Regions from separate parts of the Homo sapiens genome. Here region 1 is linked to region 2. Evidence: promoter capture Hi-C in 16 types of primary human blood cells and fetal thymus (Javierre and others, 2016). All regions are on one chromosome and are shown on one strand. The core of a region is centred on a gene start or on the middle of the fragment in contact, and the rest is flanking DNA. Distances in the headings are between cores, read along the strand shown.

Region 1 (5,334 bases), core at 360-2,859, 71 kb after region 2:
TCAAGCCCGCAGTTCCAACACTGAGACCTACCCCTCTGGACTAGAGAAGGGAAGGGCTCTCAATAGCGCCCTTTCCTCGGTCTGGGAGGGGCCCACTCAGGGATGGCAGGAACCTCATTGTTCCTGCCTTGGGGCTGCTTCCTTTGTCTGGGGAGGCCTGCCGGTCCCGTGACCTGGTGACCCTGCCACCCCTCCAAGACCCAGGCACAGGTGGGGCTGGAGAAGCCACGAGCCTGCTAGCCATGTCCGCTGTTCCCAACTAGGTGCCTAGCCAGACCCCTGCGGTACTCACCGAGCCATAGAGCTTGCCCTTGCTGCTCATGGCCACGAAGAACCGGCTGGCCACGCCGAAGATGCTCACCACGCCCCGCTCCACGGGCGAGAGCTCCAGCAGGCCTGGGGGCGGGGCGCAGGTCATTGCGGGGCAGGTGATCCCTGGCCCACTCCGCCCCTCGGCTTGTTCGCCTCCGGGGACCCTATTTCTGGGGTGGGGTTGGGGATAAAGGGCCAGGGTTCCCGGCGCAGCCGCCCCCAAGGGCCTCCAGAGCCCAAGCTGCCCTCTAGGGCCTCCGGAGCCCAAGCCTGCGCTAGCTCAGATTAGCTTGCCTGTGTAGGGGACCCCCGGCGGCCGCACCCAGTCCCGGACCTTCAGACGCGAGCCCGACCCCAGCGGTTCCCCAGCCTGGGCCAGGCCGGGGCGCGTGTCTCGGGCCCCCTGTGGCTGCACCGCGCGCCCTGTGCCCACGGGCGAAGGCGCTGGAATTCGGCGCTCGGAGCCCGAGTTTCTGAAGGCGGGAGGCGGCGCCCGACCTCAGGGGTTGCGCTGGGCTGCCGGAGCCAAGAGTGTCTGCGTCCCCAGCCCCGCGTCAGAAGGGACCGGAGCCCGAGTCCGCCCCGGTTCCCGGGGCCCCCGAGCAGGTGCCCGCCGAGGGTCTCAGAGTGTGACTGAGCGGGTTGGCCCGGCGGCCGTTGCCCCCCGCCCCCGCCCCTTCGCGCCTGGCCGCGCCACTCACTGTCGCGGGTGTCCGCGTGCGCGCCGCCGATGCGGCCGTCGGGGAGCGCCTGGAGGTGGAAGCCGATGCCCACGTTGCAGTAGAGCCGCCGCAGCCGCTTGATGCCCAGCAGGTAGTCGCCGGCGCCGCTCTGGACGGCCGCCTCCTTGGGCTGCGCTGCCACCGGCAGGCGCGCCAACGAGAGCGCCACCAGGCTCTCCCAGCGGCGCTCCAGCTCGGCCTCCAGCGTGCCGTTGGGTGCAGTGGGTGCGGCGGCGCCCCCTCGGCCCGCCCAGGGCGCCAGCAAGGCCAGCAGGACCGCCGGGAGCAGCGCTACCGCGGCCGTCCCGGGCCCCGACATCCCGGCCCGAGGGCCGTGCGTCGGTCAGGCGGTCAGTGCGCCCGGGAAGCTGGGGGGCAGAGCTGCGCCTGTGGCGTCCCGCGGGAGCGCACGGCCGACCTCGGGCAGGAGTGCGCAACCGAGGAGGTGCGGGAGGCAAGCGACGGGGCCCCCGGGCGCCGGGCTCTACCCCGGCTGCATGGAGCGGCGAGCCGGGCGGAAAGCGCGCGGCTGGAGCTGGGACTCTGAGGAGCAGTGCGCGCCTCCCTGAGCGCCAGGCCCGCCCGAGGCCGAGCCGCTATATATATAGCCCGGCGCCCCCTCCTACTCGCCCGCTCCCGCGGGGGGCCGTTCGCGTTCTCCTGGGCGCCCGGGGCGCTGTGGCGTTCGCGGCTGGTCGCAGGCCGCCTGCCAATCAGGGCCGGGGGAAGGGAGGAGGCTGGGGACTAGCGCCGCGAGTGCCACCTGGAGGGACCCCGGCCCCCACCCTTGGCTCCGCCCGGCCCACGGACCTGTTCGTCCCGCCCCTTGGCGGCTCCTACACTTCTGCTTTTCAGCCAGTTTTGCCTCTTGCACTTTGTCCCTGCCTGTCCCCGTCCCCGTCTCCCTCTCTGCTCCGGCCGCCTTGGCGCAGCCCTAACTCGGGCATCCGAAGCTCCTAGTGGGCGCAGAAGCCAGCGGCTGCTGCCTGCCCTTCGCCTTTCGGAGGCTCACGGGAACTTGGTTCCTTTGCTGGGGCCTTGAGGACCGGCCTGGGAAGGAGGGGTGGATAAGAGCAGTAAGCGACACCGGGGCCTGGCTGGGCAAGGGAGGACCCTTTGGCTACAGGCGGGAGGGAGGCCACCCCCACCCCCTAGGTCTTGGCCCCACAGGCTTGGCGCGTTTCTGGGCTGGAGTTCTGAATACCTGGTGGAGGTCCACCTGAGCCAAAGGGCAAGGTGGCAGAGATGCACCCAGGGAGGCCTGGTCCTGCACCCCCTACACACACACCCTTCCGTGAAAGGACAGGTAGCAGGGCATAGGGCCAGAGGGGATATTCAGCATCCCCTGCTCCTTTGATTCCACAGCAGAAATATCCATGTACCATAGCCAGAGCCCTCAATCTAGCAGGGACCCAGGCCAGGCCTCTGGAAGCCTCCCCTCTCTCACTCATGGTTCTACCTCCCACTGTGCCCATTATGGCCTGATGGGGACTGTCCTAGCTAGATGCAGGCCCACCTAGGTGTGAAAACCCCTGTTCTTTGTGGTCCCTGAGGAGCCTGCCTGGCCCTTCCTGCAGGCCCGCCTAGCCACAGCTGCAGGGGGCTTGGTGCCTACCCCATCTCTCATACCACCAGCACCTGTGACCAGAGATGTCCCCAGGCCACCGCAGCCTCCTCCACCTCCACCGCATCCCCACAGGGAGATTCCTGGGACCCCTTCAGAACCCTGCTGGGGCTTATTCGTGCCCCTGGAGGGGACCTGGGAGGCTTGAGGGCTCTTCTCTGAGGTGCAGAAAGGGGGGCACTTGGGGGTCATCAAGTGGCTTTGGCAGGACCGGAACCTCAGCTCCGCACCCCTTGAGAGGATCTTTGTTCCTCCTTGGGCCTGCAGCCTGCTTGGGCAGCGCCACCCAGACCTGGACCTTCCTGGGCTGCAGCTCACAGCTTCGAGATGCAACCCGGCTGCCTCTGGGTCCTGGGGTCCCCCAGATGAGCCTGCAGATCTGGTGCCAAATAGACATCGTTGGCCAGGGTGCAGGGTGCAGGGTGCAGGGGACCTAGAACCCATCCCTCACTTGCTGTGTTGTCTTTCCATCTCTAGGTCCCTGACTCCCCATTTGCAAAATGACATGGGAGGTGGGCTTTCCTCCCTCAGCCTGGGGCCAACCGAACACACCCTCTGGGGAAGTGAGACCCAGGCCTGGAGACCCACCTGTGCCAGCTGACCTGAGCAGAGGGACTCTGATGTCTTCCCCCGGCTTTTGATAGGATGAGGCTCCTTTCTTCCCAGGACTCCCACAGCAAGCTCAATTTAGGGCTTCCCAAGGACCCCTCCCTGTCTCTCCTATTTGCTGTGAGTTCAGCAAAGGACGCTGCAGGCAGCTGATATATCTCCCAGAACTGCAGGCCCACCCACACAGGATAGGTGCTTGTGGTGACTGGGGACTGACAGCCAGCAGGGCTTTTGGGAGCTGGGAATTCCCAGCAGAACTGATCTGGAATCTGGCTTCCACTTTGCTCCGGGTGCTCCCTGAGCACACTCTCAACCTCCGCAGGCCCTGGCCTCCTCAGCTGTGCAATGGAGGCAACAAAAGCACAGGTAAGGAAGAATTGCGGATGAAGGATGCACCAGGAAGCACTCACTTATCTGCATCTGACCCCTTTCCGTGCCCCTGGCCCTTGACCTGGCTTCCCACCTGCTTCCTTTCTGCTCCTGTGTTCCCGCCATGCTGACCGCGTCATCTCTCCCCTTCCCACTGGATGACCCCCGGCCCCAGATCTTCCTGCCAATGACTTATCCCATTCAGGTTTGCCTGAATGGAGAAGCCACTCCATTGGAGTAGCCACTCGGGGATGCCTTCTGGATCCCCTGCCCAGTCCTTCTGGTTGGAGCTTCTTTGAGCTCTTAAGAGAACCTTCTGCACTTGTTAGCTGACCCTCCACCGCATTTAGATTGTCATCTCCATGGAGCAAGCCCGGATTTGTGTTGTTGCCAGTTGTACCTCCAGTGCTGGGCACATAGTAGGTGCTCAATAGCTGTTTGTGAGTAAATGGCTGGCTAGGTACACTAGGAGCTCATCCATCAGCAATCCTCACTGCAAGCTGCCCTGCCCAATCTGCCACTGTGCCCCGGGGCAGACAAACAGAGGTACCTGCAAAGGCCTCAGGCAGAGCTGCCCCTATGGGAAGGTCTGCATTGCCTTTTTTTTTCTTTATGTGAAAGAAATAGTTGGACCAAGGTGACTAAATCTTTTCCAGATCTGGTTACTTCTCAGCAGAGAGACAAGGGGACCTATATATAATTTTTTTTTTTTTTTTGAGATAGTATCTTGCTCCATTGCCCAGGCTAAAGTGCAGTGGCTCTATCATAGCTCTACAGCCTCAAACTTCCAGGCTTAAGCAATCCTCCAGCCTCAGTCTCCTGAGTAGCTGGGACTACACACTCAGCTAATTTTTTGTTTTCTTTTTTAGTAGAGACGAGGTCTCGCTGTATTGCCCGGGCTGGACTCAAACTTTTGACCTCAAGCAATCCTCCCGCCTCAGCCTCCCAAAGTGCTGGGATTACAGGCATGAGCCACTGCACCTGGCCAGGTGATCTAGAAACAGGACCCTCACTTAGCTTGGACCCAAAGCCCTTCTGCCATGCTTTACCCCAGGACGCCCGCTTTGCCAAGTCCTGGGGTTCGAGGAAGGCTTGGGGCCATGTTGGGCTTCCGGTTGGGTTCAAGTTTAGGCTGTCTCCCTGTTAGTTGTATAACCTTACGCTATTTCACTTCTTAGCATTCTCAGTTTCCCCATCTGTAAAATGGGCATGAGCTGATGTCGGCCTTAGCAAGACAGTGCCTGACCTCAGGAAGAGGCTGAGCAAAGTGAGCTGTTTAGACTGCAAGCCCCTTGGGGGTGGTTCAAACTGGGTCTGATTAACAGTAAATGCTGGGAATTTGTGAAATAAACAAAGCCATGTCATTATCGGGTGGAAGTCTCCCTGTACGTCATCAGCCACTGGAGGGGTAATAAATTGAGGGAGAGGAGCAAAGGCCCAGAAAGCCTCCTAACAGTGACCTTTTTCGACCTCCAAAAAAAAAAAAACAACAATGTAGGATCTTCATGTGAATGGTCCCGTCTCCCGTGAAGGAGTGAAGAGGCTTCTCAGAGCCACCAGCTCAGGTGTTAGCTGTTAAGAACTTACTTGGCTTAATAGTAATAATAATAAAAAAGAAAGTGCTGCATAATAGTCCACTTATAGTCCTCAGGGCAAAATGACTGAGCTCAGCCCGGGGCAAGGGCCCAGGCTGTGTAA
Region 2 (5,112 bases), core at 487-2,986:
CTAAAATGCTTTGTCCCGCTGTTCACAAAGGAGCTGGTTGGGCCGGAGGCGGCCCCGCCTCTGCATCCTTTCTGGGGTGGGGGCCCCGGGCAGGCGCGGCCACCCCCGCCCTGGCCCCTGCTCCGCCAGGGAGTCCGGGGCTGCGTGTGAGGCCTGCGCGGGCCGAGACCTCACACAGCCTCCTCTGCGCGCGGGGCCGCGGGAGGGGCGCGGGTTCGTTCCTTTGAACTCCCAGCCTTTGTTCCCGGCCACCAGAGCCCCAGCGCTCGTACACTTCCGGCCCCGGGACCTCTGCGGTTACCTGGGCCTTCCCTGCCAGCCCCCACCCCCTGCCCCCACCAGAAAGCGTTTACAGGACAGGTGAGGCCCGCAGGAGGAAAAGCACTCCCCTGGCGCAACATGACTCCAGCGCATCTGCGTCTAAGCCACACCGTGCTCCTGGTAGATTAAAAATTAATTCTAAAAAAAAAATCTCTCCTATCCCAAATGCACTGTTTTCTGCCTTGCTTGACAATTGATTTGTTTTTAAAGGAAAGTTATGGGTAGATCCTCTTTTTTCTTTCCCATTCTTTTTTTCTTCTTTTATACTGGAGGGAGGGAAACGGAGGCGAGGACCACACACGCGCAGGCAGAGGCTGAAAAGGCCCGAGGTGGGTTTTCCTGTTTAATATCAAAGGAGGCCGAATAATGGGTTTCCTCGGTCCGGCTAGGCCGGCCTTTGACTCAATTGGAAATGCAAAGGCAGCTTTTGCCTATTCTCTGGCTGCTGGCTGAGACCCTAAATTTCCGTAGGAAATCGTCGGACATGCACTTAATCGGTCTTTGCAATCTTTCCCTCGAAGTTGCACGCGGGTCTGGGCGGAGGAGGCGAGGAAACCCTGGATTCGAACCAGCGCCTTTCTCTCCTTCAGGCCTCCGCCCGGGGACAGGCGCCGGTCCCCCGCCCCGGCGCATCCGCCCCGTGGGGACACTTACCAGCCCCTGCATCTTGCCGTCGGCGCCCATGCAGAGGTACCGCACGCTGTGCACGCCCTTGATGGCCACGGTCCGCAGAGCGACTGCCTTGATCTCCAGCAAACCTAGGCGCAGGGGAAGCGAGAAGCTGCAGCAAGGACCGCTGGGCCCGCACCACGTGGGTGCGGTCGGTCCACAAGCCTGTGCTTCTCCCTAGCGTCCCGCGCTGTTTGGGGACTAACGGAGGGATCCTAACGTCCAGGTGCCAAAACCTGGGGTTCCCAGGAGTTGAGGGGTCCGCAGGAGCCTAAGGGTGGCAAAGGAAGGAAGGGCGCTGGGGTGGGGCGCGCGCAGCGGGGTGGGGTGCGCGCGGCGGGGCGGGCGGGGGTGCTGGCGGGCACTCACTGTGCGCGCTCTGGCCCCGCGCGCAGTCCACGACGCCGTCGGCACGGATGCGCAGGAAGCAGCTGGAGAGCCCGTGGGGGCCGGAGGTGTACAGGTGCCGCAGGCGGATGGGGTCGCCCCAGCCGTAGTGCACGTGGGGCCCCGCGTCCGAGAAGGCGAGGGGGCGCCCGGCCACGGCCAGCCAGAGGCCGGCCAGGATCCATACGTGGACCACCACACACCCGCTCCGCATGGCACCTCCCTGGGGCTCTCGGCGCAGCTCCGGCGATGGGGGTGCGGGAGGCTGGGCGGCGACCGGGATGCGCTGCGGGGCTGTGAGTGCCGGGTTGGGATGGTCGTGGCCCTAGATCCTGGACGCAGCGCTCCTGCTCTGACGGCGCGGCGGCTCCGGGCCGGCAGCCTTATATAGTAGCGCCTTACGGGCCCCACGGGTAGGTGCCCAAGACACCCGAGCATTTCTTATCGGGATTGCATCAAGCCTCCGCCCCCCGCACACACCCACTCACACCCCGCCTCCGGCCCCAGCCCCAGCCCCCTCCCCGGGCCCGGGCAGGCAGGCGGCGGCTTCTTGTCCCAGCCGGGGTGACCCCGCCCAGGCCGTTCGGATCTGCGGGAGGAGGAGGCCTCGCTTAGCGGCCGGGTTTCGGGGAACTCCTCCCCACCGCGCAGCGGCCCCGAGGTTCTTGGCTGGGAGAGTTTGACTTTGTAAAGCAATCGACAACTGGGGCCCTTCCCCCAGGCCTCAGGCTCCCAGTGGATGCACTCGGCGTGGGGCACTAGCGGGGGCGGGGTCAGGAACCCCGGGGCCAGAGGTTGGGGGGCACCGAGTTTTGCCCCCTTCACCCTCTGTCGGGAAAAGCCTCACCTCGGCCTTAGTGCCCTTCCCCTTAAAAGCCCACTCGCACTCCCTCCCCCGACTTTCGCAGCCCCGCACATCTGACGTCAAAGCCGTCCCGTAGAATTTTCCCCGGCAGTTCCGACAGTCTCAGGTTCTTTCAGCTTCATCTTCTTGCAATTCCTGCCCCGCCCCTTTTATCCGGGTAAATTGCCCCCCGACGGGGGGCCGGGCGCGCTCTCGGCCGGCGGGGAAACAATGGAAGCCGCGCGGACTGTAGGTGGCGCCGCAGCCTCGGCGTCCGCCTGGGCTTTGCGCTCCTGGCCCCGCGCCCCTGCCTGCTCCGCGCTCGCCCCGGCCCCGCGGCTGTGCGCGAGATGCAACCTGAAAGGGGGCACTGGGAAGGAGGCTCTCGGGCAGGGTGGGCGGGCCAGCTGCGGGATTGGTGAACCCCAGCTTCTCGGCTGGAGGGTGGTGGAGGCAGGGGCGCAGGGAGGGAGGCCTGGGCCTCCGTTTCCCGTTTTTTGAGCTGTCTTGTGTCGGGGGTCTGGTTTTTGAGTCCCCGAGTCCCTGCGCACGGGGTCAGGAGGAACAGCACGGTCGGGGAGGTCGAGAGCGCCTTACCTGGTGGGGAGGGGTCGGGAAGGGGCCCAGGAACGGTGATGGGCGCCCCTGGCGTCCGGGCAGGTGCCAGGTGAGGAAAGAAATGGGGGCCGCTCCATGAAGCGGTTCCTGCCAATAAAGAAAACGACATCCAGAGAATACCCAGGCGGGGAATAAAGGGGTCCTCCTACGGGGCTTTGGTTTAACTCTAATTATTTCTTGTTATTCTTCCAAACCCCCAGCTCCTGGATGTGGGGCCCCAGGAGGCTGGTTTTGGGGGCAGAGCCCTCCTGGCCCAGCGCAAAGGCGATGGGGAGGGCAAACAGGAGAGACAGCGAGAGAAATGCCAGGCCTAATGAATTTCAATGAGCAGAGGCCACATTCATTCCCCAGTCAGTGACTGGCGTTAATGACTGAGGGCGCAGCAAATGTCACCAGGAAAGTCTTTACAAAAAGACATCATCCCGAAGGCTTTCTAGACCAGGGACCCCCACGCTGTGTGTCTTGGTTCAGAAAGCCGTGGCTTCTGTTAAATCTAATTACTTCCCCCCTGTGGCTTTAAATCGACGGCGGCTCCTATTAAACTTAATTACCCTCCCCTGCAGCTTTCGTTTTAAAGATCCGTGGTAAATGCGTGATAAATGCTCTTGAGGGCGATGGCAGAGGCTGCACTGGGGGACACGACCCAAACCGGGTGGGGGCGATGGCAGCCTCTGGTTCCACCCCTACCCCTCTGCAGCCCCTTCCAGGGACATGGGGAAGAGAGTGGCTGATGCGATCAGGGAGGTGGGGAAATGAGGAAGGCGGCTGCTGTCCCCCAGCCCCTGTTCTGAGCGCTTCATGGAGGTTCTCAGCTCAAATCTCCACAAGAGCCCCCACAGTATTCTATTCCTCCCTCCCCCATGGAGCAGGAGGGAAATGGCCCCAGAAAAGTGGCCGAGTAACCCAAGGTCGCACACTCTGTTAGTGGTGAAGTTGGAATTTGAACCCAAACAGTGGGGCTCGTAAATCCAGGCTGTGCTGCGTCTTATCCCGGGACAGGGGCTCCGGGGTCAGACCCACTGTAGCATGGATCACACCCGGCCACTCCCTGGGTAGGTCGTGGACCGCTGACCCATTGCCCTCTCAGCTTGCTCTCAGGCTTGTCCTGAGGGTGACAAGGAAGAGGGGACAGAGAGGGCCTGGGATGTAGCACTCATGAAGGTGTTGATGGCAGGCCTTGAGGTCAGCTGTGTGCCGGCCATCTCACAGGCACAGCAATGCTCTGAGAGCTTAGGGGATGGATCCTGCTCATGTGAGGTAGCTGACGGTTACAGAGATGGACTGCCGGGCCTCGAGGGTTTGCCCCAGGTGGGCCAGGCACACGATCTTGGGTGTTTGCTGGGCTCCCTGGTGTGTGTGGTTAGAGGGAGCCAAGCCTGCAGAGGACAAGGCAGTGCTGGCCAGCAAGGGGCTCTCCTGGCGAGAGCAGAGGTGTGGCAAGGGCTGAGGTCCTCCTCCCACTCTGTTCTGTGCACACCGGGACCTCTGAAGCCACCTGTGTGCTGCATTGGGCTGACTTTGCTTTTCAGGTTGTGTTTGATTTGCCCCTGGGTGGCTAAGCCGGCTGAATCGCCCAGGTGGGGTTTCATTCATTGAATGGCATGGGCAATGGGTAGCAGGTAGGGTCCAAGGCACCTGGATGTCCCGCTCACCCATGCAGGGGTATGGGGGTCTCCAGCCCAGGTGTCCAGAAGGGCTTGGCTTGGCTTTGTTCTGGATTTGATGTTAGCTTTTTTTTTTTAATTCATTTTTTATTTTTTTATTTAATTGCCCTGTAGAACCGTAAATCCTTTTTCTGGAGTCTTCCTTCTTCCATCTGAGGGTGTAGAGGTTCCTTCTTCCTGATTATGGCAAATGAGTGATTTCCACCATTTCTAAACCCGTGTCCCAGTGTCTAAGAACATCTTATTCGGCTTCACCTCCAATTTTTACATTATGAAAATCATAGTTTTCCTTTCATTTTACAGTTAGAAATGTATGTTTTGCTGTCAAATGTGCATTCTTCTACATAAGCACTCCCTAGAGCCCCTCCCAAACCCCCTGCTCCCACCTTGTGATTGAAAATTATTTTGTAATTGGAGAAACTTCTGGGTGTGGTAAAAGTCTTTATCAGAAAATAAGAACTGCAGGGTAGCGTGGGACCGAGAGAGCTGTGAACACTGAGGTGATCGAGGCCACGCCCCACAGCTGGTTCCTGGCCAACTGGAGGCTGAGACCCAGGGACTCCTGAATCTCAGCCCAGTATTTTTGCTACAACCTGCTAGAACATGCAT

The links. The method cuts DNA at HindIII sites, captures the fragments that hold promoters and counts their contacts. A CHiCAGO score of 5 or more calls a contact.
Region 1: the fragment with the promoter of FGF4 here is called in contact with the fragment with the promoter of FGF19 in region 2 in 1 of 17 cell types (endothelial precursors); the score reaches 5.0 in endothelial precursors.

Annotation. Positions count from the first base shown.
Region 1 is chr11:69,773,732-69,779,065 of GRCh38, forward strand. It overlaps FGF4 (fibroblast growth factor 4), which reads right to left and starts at 1,610. Exons shown (of 3, transcript NM_002007.4): 1 at 1,014-1,610; 2 at 293-396. The coding sequence starts at 1,353. RefSeq lists enhancers at 1-509, 2,359-3,282 and promoters at 1,499-2,611, 1,499-1,894. The HindIII fragment of the contact is 22,710 bases long and covers 1-5,334 here.
Region 2 is chr11:69,702,286-69,707,397 of GRCh38, forward strand. FGF19 (fibroblast growth factor 19) reads right to left here and starts at 1,737. Exons shown (of 3, transcript NM_005117.3): 1 at 1,360-1,737; 2 at 976-1,079. The coding sequence starts at 1,591. RefSeq lists a promoter at 1,810-4,007 and enhancers at 3,146-3,508, 4,048-4,677. The HindIII fragment of the contact is 32,821 bases long and covers 1-5,112 here.